Linked DNA regions of Homo sapiens: regions 1, 2, 4 and 5 are each linked to region 3. Evidence: promoter capture Hi-C in human tissues and cell types (Jung and others, 2019). All regions are on one chromosome and are shown on one strand. The core of a region is centred on a gene start or on the middle of the fragment in contact, and the rest is flanking DNA. Distances in the headings are between cores, read along the strand shown. Region 1 has its middle 14 kb from the start of MIR4468. Region 2 overlaps CREB3L2 (cAMP responsive element binding protein 3 like 2). Region 3 holds the start of TMEM213 (transmembrane protein 213). Region 4 has its middle 26 kb from the start of TRR-CCT4-1. Region 5 has its middle 100 kb from the start of MIR4468.

Region 1 (3,775 bases), core at 588-3,087, 660 kb after region 3:
AAACCATCACTTATCTGAGTCAGTTCTTAGCATAGATGAATATGCAAATTGTGACATCAAAAATACAGAATGTGGCCAGACGTGGTGGTTCACACCTGTAATCTCGGCACACTGGGAGGCCAATGCAGTCAGATCACTTGAGGCCAGGAGTTCGAGAGCAGCCTGGCCAACATGGTGAAACCCCATCTCTACTAAAAATACAAAAATTACCAGGGCATGGTTGCATGCACCCGTAATCCCAGCTACTCAAGAGGCTGAGGTTGGAGAACTGCTTGAACCCAGGAGGTGGACGTTGTAGTGAGTCAAGATCATGCCATTGCACTCCAGCCTGGGTAACAGAGTAAGACTTTGTGTGTGTGTGTGTGTGTGTGTGTGTGTGTGTGTGTGTGTGGTGTATAAAATATTTATTTTTTTCAAGTTTCTTCAAATGTCATAATTAAAATATATATAGAGAATGTTGGGGAGGGGATCAAATTTAAATTACTATAAGCTTAAAATAGCATGTTATAACTATAAGGTGTTATATGTAAGCCTCATGGTAATCACAAAGAAAAGACCTATCAAAGATACGTAAAAGATAAAGAGAAATGAATGAAAGCGTATCTAGTTATAGTTTAAATATGGTTTGTCTACTTTAAACCTCATGTTGAATTTTTAAAAAACTTTTAAATTTCAGTAGCTTCAGAGGCACTAGTGTTTTTTGGTTACATGGATGAATTGGATAGTGGTGAAGTCTAGGATTTTAGTGCATCTGTCACCTGAGTAGTGTACATTGTACCCAATAGGTAGTTTTTCATCCCTCAGCCCCCTCTCACCCTCTTCCCTTCTGAGTCTCTAATGCCCATTATACCATTCTGTATGCCTTTGTGTGCCCATAGCTTAGCTCCCACTTATAAATGAGAACATGTGGTATTTTGGACTCATGTTGAAATTTGATTTTCTATGTTGGAGGTGGGGCGTAATGTGAGATGTTTGGATTGTGGGGGCAGATCTCTCATGAGTAAGTTAATGCCCTCCATTGGGGGTGACTGTGTTCTCACTCTGTTAGTTCCCATGAGAGGTAATTGTTAAACAGAGCCTTGCACCTCCGCCTCTGGCTTCCTCTCTTGCCATGAGATCTCTGCATATTCCAGCTCCCCTTCACCTCCTACCATAAATGGAAGCCCTCACCAGATGCCCAATCTTGAACTTTTCCAAACATCAGAATTGTAGCCAAAGAAACCTTTTTTCTTTAAAAATTACTCAGCCTCGGATATCCCTTCATAGCAATACAAAACAGAATAAGACAATACCATTACAGAAAATCATCATATCACAAAGAAAGACAGCAAGAGAGGAAGAAAGAAACAAAGGATCTGCCAAACAGCCAGACAACAATGAACAAAATGGAAATAGTCCTTACTTTCAGTAATTATTTTACATTAAATAAATTAAACTCACTGATCAAAAGACATGGAATGGCTGAAAGGATAGAAAAAAGACTCAACTCTATGCTGCTTACAAAACACTCACTTCAGCTTCAAGAATAAACGTGAACTGAAAGTAAAGAGATATAAAAAGACATCCCATACAAAAGGAAACCAGAAGAGAGGAGGAGTAGCCACACTTATGTCAGACAAATACATTTTAAGTCAAAAACTGTGAAAAGAGACATACAGTGCCATTATATCGTGATAAAGAGATCAATTCATCAAGATGATAGAACAATAGGTAATATGGAACAATATATAATACACACACACACACACACACACACACACTATTATGTACCCAACATTGGAGAACATAAATACATAAAGAAAATATTAATAGGTCTGAAGGGAGAAGTAGACAGCAAGACAATAATAGTAGGAGACTTCAACATTGCACTTTCAACAATGGATAGATTTTCCAGACAGAAAATCAATAAGAAAACATTGGACTTGAACTATACTTTAGACTAAATGGACCTAACAGACACATACAGAATATTCCATCCAACAGCAGCAGGATACACATTCTTCTGAAGCACACATAAAACATTCTCTAAGATCATATATTAGGCCACAAAACAAGTCTTAACAAATTTCAAAAATTGAAACAATGTGGTCAGGAGTGGTGGCTCCTGTCTGTAATTCTAGCACTTTGGGAGGCTGAGATGGGAGGATCGCATGAAGCCAGGAATTTGAGACCAGCCTGGTCAACGTATCAAGACTCTATTTATGTATATTTTAATGTATTTATTATAAAAATCTATTATATGTATCTATGTATATTTTTGTATATTTTATAAAAATTAAAAAAAATGAAACTATGTCAACTATCTTTTCCAACAACAGTGGTATGAAATTAGAAATAAATAACAGAAGGAAAACTGGAAACTCAGAAATATATGGAAATTAAACATCATACTCCTGAACAACCAATGGGTCAAAGAAGAAATTGAAGGAGAAATTAAAAAAAATATATTGAGACAAACAAAAATGGAAACCCTACATAACAAAATGTATGGAATGCAGTAAAAACAGTTCCAACAAGGAAGTTTATAGCAATAAATACCTACATTAAAAAAGAAGAAGGATCTCAAATAAGTAATCTAACATTATTCCTTAAGGAACTCAAAAAAGAAGAACAAACTAAGCCCAATGTTAGTAGAAGAAACGAAATAATACAGATCAGAGCAGGAAAAAAAAAAGAGAATAGGAAAAGAATAGAAAAGATCAACAAAACTTTTTTGAAGACATAAACAAAATTGACAAACCTTTAGCTAGCCTAAGAACAAAAGAGAGATGACTCAAATAAAATTAGAAACCAAAGAGGAGCCATTACAGCAGATAACACAGAAATACAAAGGATTGGCTGGGCACAGTGGCCCAGGCCAAGGTGGGTGGATCACTTAAGGTCAGGAGTTCGAGATCAGCCTGGCCAACATGGCAAAACCCCGTCTCTGCTAAAAATACAAAAATTATCTGGGCATAGTCGTGTGCGCCTGTTGTCCCAGCTACTCAGGAGGCTAAGGCACAAGAATAATCTGAACCTAAGAGGCAGAGGGTGCAGTGAGCTGAGATCGCGCCACTGCATTCCAGCCTGGGCAATAGGGTGAGACTCTGTCAAAAAAAAAAAAAAAAAAAAAAAAAAAGAAGGAAATACAAGGATCATAGGAGACTACTATGAATAATTATATAACAACAAATTGGATAACCTAGAATAAACAGATAAATTCCTAGAAATATACAACCTGACAAGACTGAATCATGAAGAAATAGAAAATTCGGACAGATCAGTAAGGAGATTAAATATTAAATCACTAATAAGCCAATGTGGTGGCTTATGCCTGTAATCCCAGCACTTGGGAGGCCGAGGTGGGCCGATTACGAGGTCAGGAGTTTGAGACCAGCCGGACCAACATGGTGAAACCCTGTCTCCACTAAAAACATGAAAATTAGCTGGGTGTGGTGGTGGGCACCTGTAATCCTAGCTACTTGGGATGCTGAGGCAGGAGAATTGCTTGAAACTGGAAGGCGGAGGTTGGAGTGAGCAGAGCTTGCACCACTGCACTCCAGCCTGGGCGAAAGAGCGAAACTCCATCTCAAAAAAAAAAAAAAAAAAAAGAAAAAGAAAAAAGAAAAAAAAGCCTTAGACCTGATGGCTTCACTGCTGAATTCTACCAACATTTAAGGAAGCATGAGTACTAGTACTTCTCAAACTCCTCAAAAAATTAAAGAGGAAGAAACACTTTCCAACTGGATTTGTGAGGCCAATATTATCCTGACATGAAAGCCAGACAAGAACACTC
Region 2 (3,521 bases), core at 17-2,516, 800 kb after region 3:
AGTATGTTGCCCAGGCTGGTCTCCAACTCCTGGGTTTAAGGGACCCTCTTGCCTTGGCCTCCCAAAGTGCTGGGATTACAGGTGTGAGCCACTGTGCTCAGCCCCCTTTTGCAATTTAAAGAGCAAAATAATCTATAAATTTTAAAATGTATTTTATATATGTATAAACTGTATCTGGAAGGATGCTCAAGAAGTGGATAATTTTTGGGAAAGCAGCTTGGGGAAGTGGAAGTCAAGAGATGAAGGGAAGCATGTCTACACACTATACCTGTTGGTACTATTCAGATTTTTACCTCGTCACTATGTCTAGAAAATGGAAGAAATACAACTTGTAGGCACCATGTAAAACTGGACTAGAGGTAATTTTCAACCAAGTGTTCTTGGGGGAAAAAGGGAGCTTCAGTACTATATAGAAACTCAACACCACTCAAGGTCAGTGGAGGCGTTGGATGAAGAACAGGGGAAGTGGGAAGGCCCCATGGAAAGAGGCTTTAGGGGGAGAGGTTGGCAGGTGGTTTGCCCATGATAAACATCAAGATCTTGATAATGTTCTCCTTTCTTCTATCTCAGTTTAGCCATCTGGAAAATAAAACAATTTTTGCAATTTTCGCCATGATTATATCCTTTTAAAAAAGTGTATCATAAAAACTAAGTCTTTGTGAAAGTAACAACAGAAGTTCTGCTTGTTTAAAATGCAGAATTCCTATAAAGCCAAGTTATTTGTAAAATCATTTGGTGGTTATGCTAATACAGTTTTATATCTGGTTGGTTCTTCAAGTGAAACCACTGGTCCCAGACAGTGGTAGGTAGGGAGTTGGGGGAATATTCGACCTGCCTGGTGTCCAGATGGAAAGGCCATCTGGCTTCCATGTCTTACTGAGTGCTGAAAAGGAGTTGGCTGATCTCACAGACTGTGTGGTTTCCTGTTCCTCCCGCCTGGCCCGGAGAGTGATATGATTTCAATGCGATATTGAAGCTTTTGGTTTGATGTTCCACTTTGGAGTTAACTCCTAGGGTTGGCCCCAGGCCAGGTTCTGAAGGGGCACCCGGGTCCTCATTGGCTGAGAATGTTATTACTTATGGTCACATGACCTCCACAAGCTGAATAAATGTAGTGAGTTCTAACGGGAGACAGAATTGGGAAGTAAGTATAATTTTTCCAGACCCTTGTGGCACCTTTCAACATTCTCGCCCCTTTTGTGTTCCCCTCCTTTCTTAGACATCAAGTGTTCACTGTAATGTTCTCTTTCCAATTTCATCCCTTCAAATTTTGCTGTCAGGAAAGATTTGATAAGCTTTCACTAGAAATTTTAGTGTTAGTAAGATTTAACATGTTAACCCTAAATGGGCATTTATATTTAACAATAATTACTTCAGGTCAAAAGGGTGAATCTCCACTTGGAGAACCTAGGGCGATAGCCAGGTAGTAGTGGGCGAATATTTGGGGAATGGGAGAGGAACCCTCACTGCCCTCCATTATTTCATAATGTGGCTCTTATTCATAAGGCAGCCTTGTTTATGTGTTGCTAATTTGTCTATGATCTAGAGGATTTCCCTTGGCTTAGCAAAAAATCTTTGACGGATTATTTTACTGTCTCTGAAATTGTTCTCATGATAGTAACATTGGTTGGGAGGTGGTAGACATAGGCACAGTCCTGAAAGATGAGAGGGCAGTACAGAGTTTTATATTTGCCCTCCTTCTCGAATGATCCCTGAGTTACAGTGTTCATGGGAAACAGGGGTCTCTGATGTGACATTGCTTTTGCAGGAGTTATAAGATATAGCATCTAGATTAATAATTGAATTAATTACAGTGCTTGCAGCTAGAAGTAACTGAAAATGGATTCAGATCGGCTCATACAGTAAGTAAATTATCTCATGTTGCAAGAGGTTGTGAAATAGAGCCCCTGGCCGGGCGCGGTGGCTGACGCCTGTAATCCCAGCACTTTGGGGGGCCAAGGCAGGTGGATCACAAGGTCAGGAGTTCAAGAGCAGCCTGGCCGAGATGGTGAAACCCTGTCTCTACTAAAAATACAAAAATTAGCTGGGCGTGGTGGCGGGCGCCTGTAATCCCAGCTACTCGGGAGGCTGAGGCAGGAGAATCCCTTGAACCTGGGGGGTGGAGGTTGCAGTGAGCCAAGATCATGCCACTGCACTCCAGCCTTGGTGACAGAGTGAGATTCTGTCTCAAAAAAAAAAAAAAAAAAAGAAAGAAAAGAAAAAAAAAGAAATAGAGCTCCTTGTTGGCTGATTCAGCAGTTCCTCAATGGACCTTGGTTCTGCCCATGTGCAGCTTTCATCCTCAGGTTGGATGTGTGATGGACATAGGAGTTACAGGGGTTACATTCAAAATGACAACATCCAGAGGAAGAAGAGAAGTTGTCTCTTTCTTGTGTCCCTTTTTTAGAATGGAAGAAACTTTTCTTACTAGCCCACTAGCTGATTTTTCTTAAAGCTTTATTGGTAAGGATTCGGTCATATGACCATTCTTAAGCCAATGGCTGGAAAGGAGAATGGGATTTATATTATCAGCTTAGATTAATCATATGGGGATGGAGACTCAACCAGCATGACCATTGGGATCATTAGTAAAATAGTCTGAGTTAACAATTCTTTCCTTAGTCAAAAGGTATGTTTCTTTTCTCATGAACATGGGCTAGCAACTAGAAAATTTAAAATTCACAGTAATTTGCCCTGGGCGCAAAACAGTAAACCCAAGTACTGTGCCACTCGCAGAGTTCTTTTGTTTTTTGTTTTTAAATAGAGACAGGGTCTCCTTATGTTGCCTAGGCTGGTCTTGAACCCCTGGGCTCAAGGGATCCTCTGCCTCGGCCTCCCACAGTGCTAGGATTACAGGCATGAGCTATCACGTCCGGCCCAGCAAAGTTCTAAGAATATTATTTAGCTGTGCTACCAATGCCCAGTGAAAGAAGACTATAGATGTAGAAATAGCCTCTTGAAAGTGCAGGGAAAGGCTAGGGAGGGGTGGGAGCCAGGAGGAGATTATGGCTATGTCTTGACTCACTAACTAGGAGATGTAGAATTAACTGTATTATCTGGACTCTTGGCGTCAGAGTAGAATACCAGGGCTGGAGGTAGCTAGCTGAGCCTGTAATCATGCTTACCATGCAGGACAAGAATGATTTGTTCTGTTTGGGATCGACAGCAGGTGGCAAGCTAAATGCCATTTTTCAAAGAAGCAATTTTTCCAGTTGCATATGGCTGTTCAAATATTGATGAGGGCACATGTGCCTGTCTGCAGCTAAAACTGCCGGCCTCAGCCTGACATGGCTCTACGCTGTCTGGTGACTCTCTTGGGGTAAATAGCCTTAAGCCTTAGCTGGGCATTTGGTAGGATTGAGGCCTATGGTTGCAGGGCATCTGAATTGTCCAAATGAGTGATCTTATGAGTGAGGGAGTGCTGCCCTTGTTTTCTGCCCCTGTGGAATCAGGATGGAAAGGAAATAATGAGACCCACTGTCTCTGGATCAACCTTGAGCCTATTTCTCTTTTTCCCTGCT
Region 3 (3,594 bases), core at 795-3,294:
CGTTCTGCTTCTTGGGGAATGCAAAAAGGAAAAAAAAAAAAGTGGTGGGCATGGAAACTCTCAAGGTTCCCCTGGCTGTGGGTCAGTGTGTCCTTCAAGGGAGCTTGTTGTCACAGCAGGACGAGTTCAGAAGAAACCTGCTGTTTAGCTAAAGCCATGAAGTTGCTGCTGAGACTAATTTTATGCCACCCAACCCCCAAGCCACTCCAATGTCCTGCTTAAAGTATAGTAATTGCCTCGATGCAATCTGTTACTGTAAATTATTTACAGCTAAATGGCTTAGAGCCTGGTCTTTATTTGTTTTGGAGAAACTGATTCCTCACTATTCTAATTTTCCTTATGACTCAAATAACTTCCTTGGCCCTGACTTTCATTTCACCTCTACACCTAGAATGGAAGTTGTCCTCTTCCAAAGTGAGTGGAAAAAAACCCTAGTTGGCTGAATGCTAGGGTTAGGTTCGAGCTTATGAAATTGCCATTGTTATAGGTGAAAATTGTTCAATATCAGCAATTTTCTGTGGTTCAAATGGAATAGCCCCGGTGAAAATTCCTAAGAATTTAAACATCGCCCTCCTCCCTTATAAGCAGAGCCAGAAGCGAGGGAGGGACTGGCCCTACTTGGGGCTATTCCACAAGAAAAGCTGCTGGGAAGACCCAACGATTCAGTGCAGTTAAACTTGTCTTCTGATTCTGAGCTCCCATCATAAGCAAGGCACTGTCGGGGTAAGTAGAAAGAAACTCAGCACTCTTATTTGGGGAGGGGTGAAGTTGGAAAATAAAATGAATGTGCTTACCATAATTGCTGACATTCACTGTGTGTGTTCTATGGGCTATTTCTAAGTTCTTTACATGAAATTACATCAATTCGTCTTGACAAGCACTATGATTGTCCCCATGAGATAAAGGAGGAAACTTGGCATAGAGAGGTAAAGTCATTTGCTCGAGGTCGCATAGCTAGTGAGTCATGGAAGCTGGACCTGGGTTCAGGCTCAGCGGCTCAAGAGTGCACGTCTTGAACCTCAACACCAACACCCCTGGCAGTGGCTACAGAAGAGAGTCTGAGGATGAGAGGGGCAGACACAGGACTTTGGGGGCAGGGTTGGTTTTGGGAGCAGGAGTGTTGCAGGGCATAGAGAGTGTGGTGGTGTTCTGAGGTGGCTGAGAACAAGATCAAAGCCAGGAGCAGAAGATGGTAACCAAGGTCCCTCTGCCGTGAGTTGCAGAACCCGGCCTGGCAGGGCAAGGCAGGGGATGTAGATCAGCCTTCCAGCCTCCACAGGAAAATGGGGAGATAACCCAGCATTTCCAGTGCCCGGGGAGGCAGGAGGGTGGGAGACAGTGAATGGCAGCCCTCCTGGCAGTCAGGTTTTGTGAAAGTCGCAGAGAAAGTACAAGGGGCAGGGAGGGATGGAGGACTTAGGAAAGGGAAGGTCAGACACAAATGTGCACAGGGAGGATTGCAAAGCACGACAGCCCAGTGGGGCTGAGAAGGAGCCTTCAGGACACAGCGGACCAAGAGATATCATTTTGGTCCCCTGATGGGTGAGACTCCAGCAAATAACTTTTTCCTTTCTTTGTGGCAAAGGCCAAGAGAGGTGGCTGCTCCTGCCTTAGCTGAGGAATTGAGTATCTGATCTCCGTCTCAGGCCAACCTAAGACCCCCCCTGCCCCAGCCCCACCTCCCACCCCCTGCCTAATCCTTCAGATGAGAAAGTTCTGTTTCCTCCTTCCTTTGCGCAGGACCAACCCTGGCCAAAGAATCTTCCCCCTCCTCCTTCTTTCCCTCCCACCTCTCTTCCCTCCTTCCCTCCCCCTTCCCAGCCTGGCCATGAATAAAGCTCATAACGCTACCTGCCGAGCAAGCCGAGTGGAGGGAGGCAAAGGCCAGGCTGAGGATCAGGGTGGCCCGGGTGGCAGCGGGGAGGCGCTGCATGCTGGAGGCTGTGCTGAGTGCCCGGTGCAGGTGAGCCGGTCCTGCGGAGTTGTGCCGAGTGCCTGCTGCAGGTGAGTCGACTCCCACCTGCAGGAGCTGGAAAGCAACTCTGCCAGAGGTGAACTTATGCTGGGTGTTTGGGGGAAACACCATGGGGTGGAGCAAAGGAAACTTGGCCTGTCACACCTTCTCTCACCTCTCTAGAAGGGAAGCCAAACCGTTGGCTGAGGAAGGAAGGGAGGGGCAAGCTGTGCCCTTCTCCCCTGAGCGCAAATATTGTCCTTATTGAGAAACAAGGGGAGGACAAGAGAGATCTGTGTCATGCTGGTTCCTGGGACATGAGTTTGCTGCCTCTCCCATCTGCAGGTGTAGCATGGATGCTCAATTCCATTTGGGCCAATATTCACTGAGCACCCACTATGCTGAAGTTGGGAGATACCTGCTGTCGAAGTGCGTTAATTACAAACACGCATCATTCAACCCCAGAACCGTGTTTGAGGAATGGCTTGGGAGGATAAAGCACTGTGGGTTTCAACAGTGGAGGCCACATCTGCTGATGGGATGCTTCAAGAAGAAAATGGCATTTGAGGTTGGGCATGGGGGCTCACCCTGTAGTCCCAGCACTCTGGGAGGCTGAGGCAGGTGGATCACTTGAAGTCAGGAGTTCAAGACCAGCCTGGCCAAAATGGTGAAACCCCATCTCTAATAAAAATACAAAAATTAGCCAGGTGTGGTGGTGCATGCCTGTAGTCCCAGCCACTTGGGAAGCTGAGGCAGGAAAATCGCTTGAACCCGGAAGACAGAGGTTGCAGTAAGCTGAGATGCTCCTGACCCTGCATTCCAGCTTGGCCGACAGAGGGAGACTCCATCTCCAAAAAAAAAAAAAAAAAAAAAAAGAAAATGGCATTTGGCCTGGGCCTTGAAGGATGGCTAGAATTTTGACAGGGGGAGAGGGGAAGATGGCATTATAGGTAGAGGGACAGATGAGCAAAGGTCCAGAGGTAAGGAAGTGTCAGAGGGTGGCTGTACCAGCAGCACCCAGAAGCGCAGGTGAGCCAAGGCATGTGAGGTGGGGAGGCAAGAGGAGAGCTGTGGGCTAAGCTTCTGCGTGCCTGGTAGAGGAATTTGAAACAAAGTCAGGAAGCAAAGGGGAAGGTTCTGTAGAGATTTTGAGCTGAGGAGTAACTTGACTAGAGCTCTGCATTCCGTCTAAAACATTTATTGAAGACCCACATGTATATAAAAGGTCTCATCCTAGGCACTGGAGACTGAGATGACTGAGACACGCCTCTTCCCCTTGAGAGCACAGTGCAGCAGGGAACCAAACCCGGAAGAAAGAAATTTGATGCAACCTGGCAAGACTCAAATAGGGGTACCTTCCACTGTGATGGGAATAAAAAGGAGGATGGGATGAACTCTGCCTGAGAGGTATAGGGGAAGGATTCACAGAGAAAGTGACATTTGGGCTGGGTGCTGAAGTTTGTATGTGCAGATTAGAGTTGATGGGCTTTTCAAGTCAAAGGAATAGCACCTATAAAGGCGAGGGAATCGTCTGTGTGCACACAGCCTGCCATGTGTGGAAGTGTTCCTGCGCATGAATGGGCCTGGTAAGGGTGAGGGGTGGACTCCAGCTCTGTGGAAAGACATAGAAGGCGTGAGTA
Region 4 (3,749 bases), core at 1,127-3,626, 520 kb before region 3:
CACTTATACCTACTAGGAGATGACAGCCATAATTTAAAAAATGAAAAATGACAAATGCTGATGAGAATGTAGAAGAACTGGAACCCCTTTTTTTTTTTTTTTTTTTTTTTTTTTTTTGAGACGAAGTCTCGCTCTTGTTGCCCAGGCTGGAGTGCAACAGCGCGATCTCAGCTCACTGCAACCTCTGCCTCCCAGGTTCAAGCGATTCTCCTGCCTCAGCCTCCCCAGTAGCTGGGATTACAGGCGCCTGCCACCACGCCCGGCTAATTTTTGTGTTTTTAGTAGAGATGGGGTTTCACCATGTTGGCCAGGCTGGTCTCGAACTCCTGACCTCAGGTGATCCGCCTGCCTCTGCCCCCCAAAGTGCTGAGATTACAGGTGTGAGCCACCATGCCCAGCCTGAGCCTCCATGCCTGGCCGGAACTGGAACTCTTATGCATTGCTGGTGGGTATGTAAAATGGTTCAGCTACTATGGAAAAGAGTTTGGTAGTTCCTCAAATGAAATGTAGTTAGCATAAAATCCAGCAATTCCACTCCCAGGTCTGTACCTAAGAGGACTGAAAACATACATCCACACAAAAACTTGTGCACAAGTGTTAATAGGAGCATTATTCATAATTGCTAAAAAGTGGAAACAGTCCAAGTGTCTATCACCCGATGAATGGGTAAACTGTGACATATCCATACAATGAGATATTATTTGGGGTATAGATATCTGGATATTAAATTTAATACTAGACAGGGAAAATGTCACAAAGAAAAATGAGGGACATCATATTGGTAAAAGAACATTATATCAGTGCTTGCTTCAGCGGCACATATACTAAAACTGGAATGATACAGAGATTAGCACCACCCCTGCGCAAAGATGATACACAAAATTGTGCAGCGTTCTATATTTTTTAAAAAATATTATATCTCCCGGGCGCGGTGGCTCACGCCTGTAATCCCAGCACTTTGGGAGGCAGAGGCGGGTGGATCACGAGGTCAGGAGATCGAGACCATCCTGGCTAACACAGTGAAACCCCGTCTCTACTAAAAATACAAAAAATTAGCCGGGCGTGGTGGTGGGCAACTGTACTCCCAGGTACTCAGGAGGCTGAGGCAGGAGATTGGCGTGAACCCGGGAGGCGGAGCTTGCAGTGAGCCGAGATTGTGCCACTGCACTCCAGCATGGGCGACAGAGCGAGATTCCATCTCAAATAATAATAATAATATTATTATTATTATTATATCAAAAAGATATAACCATAATGAACATATATGCATCCAAAAACATTCACGGTTCTTTGAAAAGTTATTGAGAAGGAAGAATGGCAAGACTGATTAAGAGTCAGATGATGCATCGAAACAAGGCACAGCATGAAAACAGAAGCAAACACACTGGAGGTTACAATCAATTAAAAATTGGCCGGGCACCGTGGCTCACGCCTGTAATCCCAGCACTTTGGGAGGTCAGGTGGGCAGATCCCCTGAAGTCAGGAGTTCATGACCATCCTGGCCAACATGGTGAGACCCTGTCTCTACTAAAAATACAAAAATTAGCTGGGTGTGGTGGTGCATTCCTATAATTCCAGCTACTTGGGAGGCTGAGGCAGGACACTAGCTTGAACCGGGGAGACAGAGGTTGCAGTGAGCCGAGATCAGACCATAGCAGTCCAGCCTGGGCGACACAGCAAGACTCCGTCTAAAAAAATAAATAAATAAGTAATCCTACAAATACACTTCTTTTTTTGAGATGGAGTTTCTCTTTGTCGCCCAGGCTGGAGTACAGTGGCACGATAGCAGCTCACTGCAACCTCTCTCTGCCTCCCGGGTTCAAGCGATTCTCCTGCCTCAGACTCCCCAGTGGCTGGGACTACAGGAGCCCATATCCACACCCAGCTAATTTTTGTATTTTTAGTAGAGATGGGGTTTCACCATATTGGCCAGGCTAGTCTTGAACTCCTGACCTTGTGATCCGCCTGCCTTGGCCTCCCAAAGTGCTGGGATTACAGGCGTGAACCACTGCACCCAGCCACAAATAAACTTCTAAAAGAGTTTCTGGGCCAGGTGCGGTGACTCACGCCTGTAATCCCAGCACTTTGGGAGGCTGAGGCAGGCGGATCACCTGAAGTCAGGAGTTCAAGGCCAGCCTGACCAACATGGTGAAACCCCATCTCTACTAAAAATACAAAATTAGCCAGGCATGGTGGCACACGCCTGTAATCCCAGCTACTTGGGAGGCTGAGGCAAGAGAATCACTTGAACCCAGGAGGCGGAGGTTGCAATGAGCTGAGATTGCGCCACTGCACTCCAGCCTGGGCAACAAGAGCAAAACTCTGTCTCAAAAAAAAAAAAAAAATTCTGTCATTGTTGATCATATATAGGTATTATGGGAAAAGCACTTGATCTAATTCAGCGCATGCATATAATCAACCTTCCCAGAAAATTAGGAATAGAACTTTCTTAAGTTCATAAAAACTATATACCAAAAATCTAGAATAACACCATCCTTAATGGAGAAGACTTAGATCAATAAGGAACAAAGATTTTAATGTTCCCATTAAAATATGGAACAAAGATGCCACGTTCCCCATTACTGTTTAGCATAGTATTAAAGGACCAGTCTAATGCTCTAAGACGTAAAATGTGAAATTGAAAGAGGAGATAAAACTGTCATTATTTGTACATTATATGATCACTTCCATTGAAAAGCTAGTAAAATAATCAGATGAATTATTAGAATAACAGTTTAGCAAAATTGCTCGATATAAAATCAACTTTAAAGGATCAATAGCATTCCTTAGTACCAACAATAAATCAGAAAACAAAGAATAAGATACAATTCATGGAAGCAACAGCTATAAAATACCTCGAAATTAATATATAAACAAGACCTTCATAGAGAAGTTTTAAAAGCTTTATTGGAAGACACAAAAAAAATCTGTAACTTAAAGATTCTATTATTCTTCTTAAACCACTATATAGGCCCCAAAGAATGTGAATTTAATGCAAATTCAATCCTAATCAATATTTCAACTGGATTTTAAATGGAAGTGGAAAATTTTATTCTAAAATTTCTATGGAAGAATAAAAATCCATAATTAGCTGGGCCAACATAGAGTAACAAAGACGGGGACTCTCTTTACTAGATACTAAGGCATATTTTTAAGTCTATGGTAATAGAAAACAGTAAGATACTGGTGTGGAAATAAAAAGAACAATGGAACAGAGCCCAAAAATAGATCTTTCCATATATGAGAACTGGATATATGATAAAAATGGTACCACAAATTAATGGGAGAAATATTGATCTGTTAGGTGGTATTGGGAAAACTGCTTCACTAAATACAGAAAAATAAAGCTGGATCCCTACATTACACAGTATACAAAGGTGGATGCCAGATGGATTGTAAATGAAAAGGTGAAGGCAAAACTATAAAGCTCATAGGAGAAAATGCTGGAGGATATCTTTGTGGTGTAGGGCTAGGGAAATATTTCATAAGTAAACTGCCCAAAACACAAACATAAGACAAAAAGTAGATTAATTAAAAAGGATTTCGTTCAATAAAGGATGTCACAGACAAAGTTAAAAGACAGGTAACAGACAAAAGTAACTGACACATCTAAAACTGGTAAGAGATTAATGTCCACAACAAGAAACCAAAATGCAATTGCACGATGAGCAAAGATCAACACGCAGTTGACAGAAGGGAAGACTAACTATCACCTTGTTTTTGGTAATAAGGAATTGAAGATAACCTAG
Region 5 (3,506 bases), core at 269-2,768, 570 kb after region 3:
TCTTCTTGAGGCAAAATGGCTTACTTCTGACCAGTGGTGACATTAAGAAGAACAAAAAGAATTGATTTGGAATTGATCACTCATTTTGGATCTTCATTTGTAAAATGCCCATTTATTGCTTGAGTTGGGGGCTACCAGGTGTGAGGATGCAAGTTTGAAGAAGGTATATTTCTTTGCACTAGGAAAAAAAATAGAATAGGTAGAGAAAGAATTGGGGAGGGCCAAGGGGGAAGCAATGTAGCTAAGACAACAATCATGATAAACGAAGGATGTAAGTTTTGCTGTGAGAGATACAGTGTAACTCTCTCTTCAATCTCACTGTAAAGTCTTTAGTAAAATCTTCTTCACTCCACTATGCCTTATGAGTTCATACTGGTTTTATATCATTTTGTTTTTTATACAATCAAGTACTGAGTCCTGCTTTGCTGTGAATATGCGGGGCTACCACTAGCCCATGTTAAGGAACATTATCGAAAACTTGGACCTAAGGCGAAAGGTGATTAATGTCATGCTAAGAACATTTCTAGCAAGCCCACCCAAGGACCATCTGACTCAGGAAATTTAAGCTTGTTGGCATAATTCATTAGAACCCAGAGACTTTGCAATTCTGTAAAGTTGATCTGGTACAACAACTTTCTTTTTTGTTGAGTAGGAAAGGTAAAGCAGAAGGTTATGATTTTTTAAAATAATTTTTTTCGAGGCAGGGTCTGGCTCTGTTACCCAGGTGGGAGTGCAGTGGCGTGACCTCCTGAGCTCAAGCCATCCTCCTGCCTTATTTTTTTATTTTTTTCTAGAGACAAGGTCTCATTATGTTGTCCAGGCTGGTTTCAAACTCCTGACCTCAAACAAGAAGGTTATGATCGTATTATTCCTGTAAGATTATTATTTTTTAAAATTTTAGAGACAGGGTCTCTGTTACTCAGGCTGGAGTGCAGTGGTGGTATCATATCTCACTGCAGCCTCAAACTCCAGGGCTCAAGCAATCCTCCCACCTCAGGTGCGTACCACTATGCCGAGCTAATTCTTTAAATTTTTGTAGAGATGAGGTCACTATGCTGCCCAGGCTGCTCTTGAACTCCTGGCCTCAAGTGATCCTGAAGCCGTCTAGGGTCTCTGGAGCAGTCTTGTTGTCTGGGGTGTTATCTGAGCTCTTTGTCTCATGACCAAGAGAATTAAGGAGTGTGGACACCAAAAGTGAGGTTGGAGCAAAAGTTTAATAAGTGAAAGAAGAAAGCTTTCCTCTGTGGAGATGGGGCCTGAGAGCGTTGCTATTTCACAGTTGAATACAAAGTCTTTTATAAACAAGCCAGTGGGGTGGGGTGTTTCATTTGCATATGGTGCAAAAAACCAGTTCCTTATTTGCATAAGATGCAAATTTCTGACAGCTCCACCCCATCCCTCTAGTGAGCATGTGAGTTCTTAACATGAGTTACTCCATATTGTGTCATTTCCCTTACTGCACACGTGTCAGGAGATGGAATTTTCCATTGTGGACCTGCCTGATTCAGTGTAAATTTAATCTATACAGCTGCAGGCCTGTCTTAGGCAAGCCCCCTGATGCCAGTCCCCTTATCTGAATATGCCCAAAAAGGAAAGGAATGCGCTCACTGAAGCCCACTCTGTATACCTGGAGCTCATTTGTTGCTCAAAAGATAAATGTGTTGAGCCTTGCTTCCTTATCTGTGCTTGCAGCTTGATTTCTTCCAGGCTGATCCTTTGTTGGAAGGGCTTCTACTGGGTGTCTGTCTGAACTATCTGCCTAACTAGTTCCTTCCTCTCTCTTCTCTCAATCCTCCCACCTCAGCCTCCCAAAGTGCTGGGATTATAGGAGTGAATGGCACCTGGCCCCCTTAGGGTTTTAATCATCATATAACTTTATCTAATTTAACAACTTTATTTCAGCATTACTGCCCCCTCTCCACTTATCATAAAAATCTAGTTTCTTAAATTCTCTTTTGAACTGGGCTTTTCATCCTTCTGGGTTCCTTATTAATGAGTTTAATAAATATTTGACATGAACTCACTAGTTGTATTAGAATTATGTTTTTAACATTTTGAGAGCTATGCCTTAGCACCTGTAGCCAGCTTTTGTGAGATTTAGGAAAAAGGTATCCCTTCCTTGAGTATAATTAGTTTTCTTTTCCTTAAGCACAATTTTTAGAAGGTATTATAATTTTTCTTTCTTTATTTATTCTCTTTAAAATAGAGACAAGGTCTCCCTGTGTTACCTAGGCTGGTCTCAAATCCTGGGCTCAAGAGATTCTCCTTCCTTGGCTTCCCAAAATGCTAGGATTACAAACATGAGCCATCATGCCTGACTATATTTATTTCTTAATAAAAATTATAGCAAGAATGAAGTCATTCTATACAAATTCTACAAATTGAATGATTAAATAAATAGGAAGCACAAATATTTAATTACACTAAGAACTCACTAGAATAATTAAGAAATCATTAGGAATTAATTTGTTAGAAGGTAGTTATATGCATCTTACTTTCAGAGACAAAACATTTTAATGACAGTTTTGAGGCAGGAGAATAAGGTCTGGGAGCAGGAAACCTAAGGCCTTCTTAGAACTAAATCAAACAGAAAAACTCCAACTTTCTTAGACCAAGTAAATAACTTTGTATCTCTACTTCAGCTATGACAGGAAACATCCTCTTAATTTGCATAAGGTGTACACCAAGTAAATAACTTTGTAACCTCACTTCATCTTCTTTATTTTCATAGTGTGTACTCCAAGTAAATAACTTTGTAACTTCACTTCAGCCTTTTCATTTACAAAGGGCTTACACCAAGTAATCAATGGGAAACCTCCAGAGGGTATTTAAACCCCAGAGAATTCTGTAACTGGGCTAGCCACTTGCTGGGGCCGCTCCCGCTCTGTGGAGTGTGCTTTTGTTTCAATAAATCTCTGCTTTTATTGCTTCATTCTTTTCTTGCTTCATTTGTGCATTTTGTCTAATTTTTTGTTTAAAATGCTAAGAACCTGGACACCTCAACCGGTAACATATTTTGGCAAGCCAGTCAGGAGGTAAGCCCAAAGCTTGGGGTTTATTTTTCTCATTTTCCTTTCTGTTCCATACAGGGGAATCTCTCTCTCCTCTCTCCTCTCTCCTCTCTCCTCTCTCCTCTCTCCTCAACTGTGGACCCTTGATGGGCAGTGACTAAACAGGAAGGTAACTGCAGGATTCTGGCCAGGGCTACTCTCCAGTGTTGCCTGAATGCAAGCAGTGAATGGGGGTAGTTGCCTGCCTGGAAAGGGGAAGGATTCTTTTCTGTCTTTTCTGGTTGTGATCTCTGACCCCTACATGTGGTGCAGCTCCTCTGGGGCAAACTCACATGCCTTTCAGGCAATGTAAACCTTCTTTTCTTATGAACAATTCTTCCCTTCCCCTACTCTTCTGGCTAAGGACAAAAGAAACCTACCCAGCCTCCTATCATTACAGTTTGTATCAGTCCATTTTCACGCTGCTGATAAAGACATACCCAAGACTGGGTAATT

The links. The method cuts DNA at HindIII sites, captures the fragments that hold promoters and counts their contacts. A contact is called where the count stands out against the background at its distance.
Region 1: a fragment that was not itself captured here is called in contact with the fragment with the promoter of TMEM213 in region 3 in 2 of the 25 tissues and cell types used here (hippocampus and stomach).
Region 2: a contact is called between a fragment that was not itself captured here and the fragment with the promoter of TMEM213 in region 3, in 2 of the 25 tissues and cell types used here (mesendoderm cells and thymus).
Region 4: a fragment that was not itself captured here is called in contact with the fragment with the promoter of TMEM213 in region 3 in 1 of the 25 tissues and cell types used here (liver).
Region 5: a fragment that was not itself captured here is called in contact with the fragment with the promoter of TMEM213 in region 3 in 5 of the 25 tissues and cell types used here (IMR-90 fibroblasts, bladder, dorsolateral prefrontal cortex and 2 more).

The regions. Positions count from the first base shown.
Region 1 is chr7:138,135,746-138,139,520 of GRCh38, reverse strand. No RefSeq gene overlaps it. Among named protein-coding and RNA genes, the nearest start is that of MIR4468, 14 kb to the right of the region's middle. RefSeq lists an enhancer at 1,039-1,148. The HindIII fragment of the contact is 7,042 bases long and covers 1-3,775 here.
Region 2 is chr7:137,994,021-137,997,541 of GRCh38, reverse strand. The region is part of intron 1 of CREB3L2 (cAMP responsive element binding protein 3 like 2); the gene reads left to right. Among named protein-coding and RNA genes, the nearest start is that of CREB3L2, 6.3 kb to the left of the region's middle. The HindIII fragment of the contact is 4,722 bases long and covers 1-3,521 here.
Region 3 is chr7:138,796,444-138,800,037 of GRCh38, reverse strand. TMEM213 (transmembrane protein 213) reads right to left here and starts at 2,044. Exons shown (of 3, transcript NM_001085429.2): 1 at 1,852-2,044. The coding sequence starts at 1,933. ATP6V0A4 (ATPase H+ transporting V0 subunit a4) reads left to right here and starts at 1,842. Exons shown (of 22, transcript NM_020632.3): 1 at 1,842-2,004. RefSeq lists a silencer at 1,780-2,074. The HindIII fragment of the contact is 6,104 bases long and covers 1-3,594 here.
Region 4 is chr7:139,312,446-139,316,194 of GRCh38, reverse strand. It overlaps a transcript of UBN2 not described here and the pseudogene RNU6-206P. Among named protein-coding and RNA genes, the nearest start is that of TRR-CCT4-1, 26 kb to the left of the region's middle. The HindIII fragment of the contact is 9,197 bases long and covers 1-3,749 here.
Region 5 is chr7:138,221,695-138,225,200 of GRCh38, reverse strand. No RefSeq gene overlaps it. Among named protein-coding and RNA genes, the nearest start is that of MIR4468, 100 kb to the right of the region's middle. The HindIII fragment of the contact is 4,590 bases long and covers 1-3,506 here.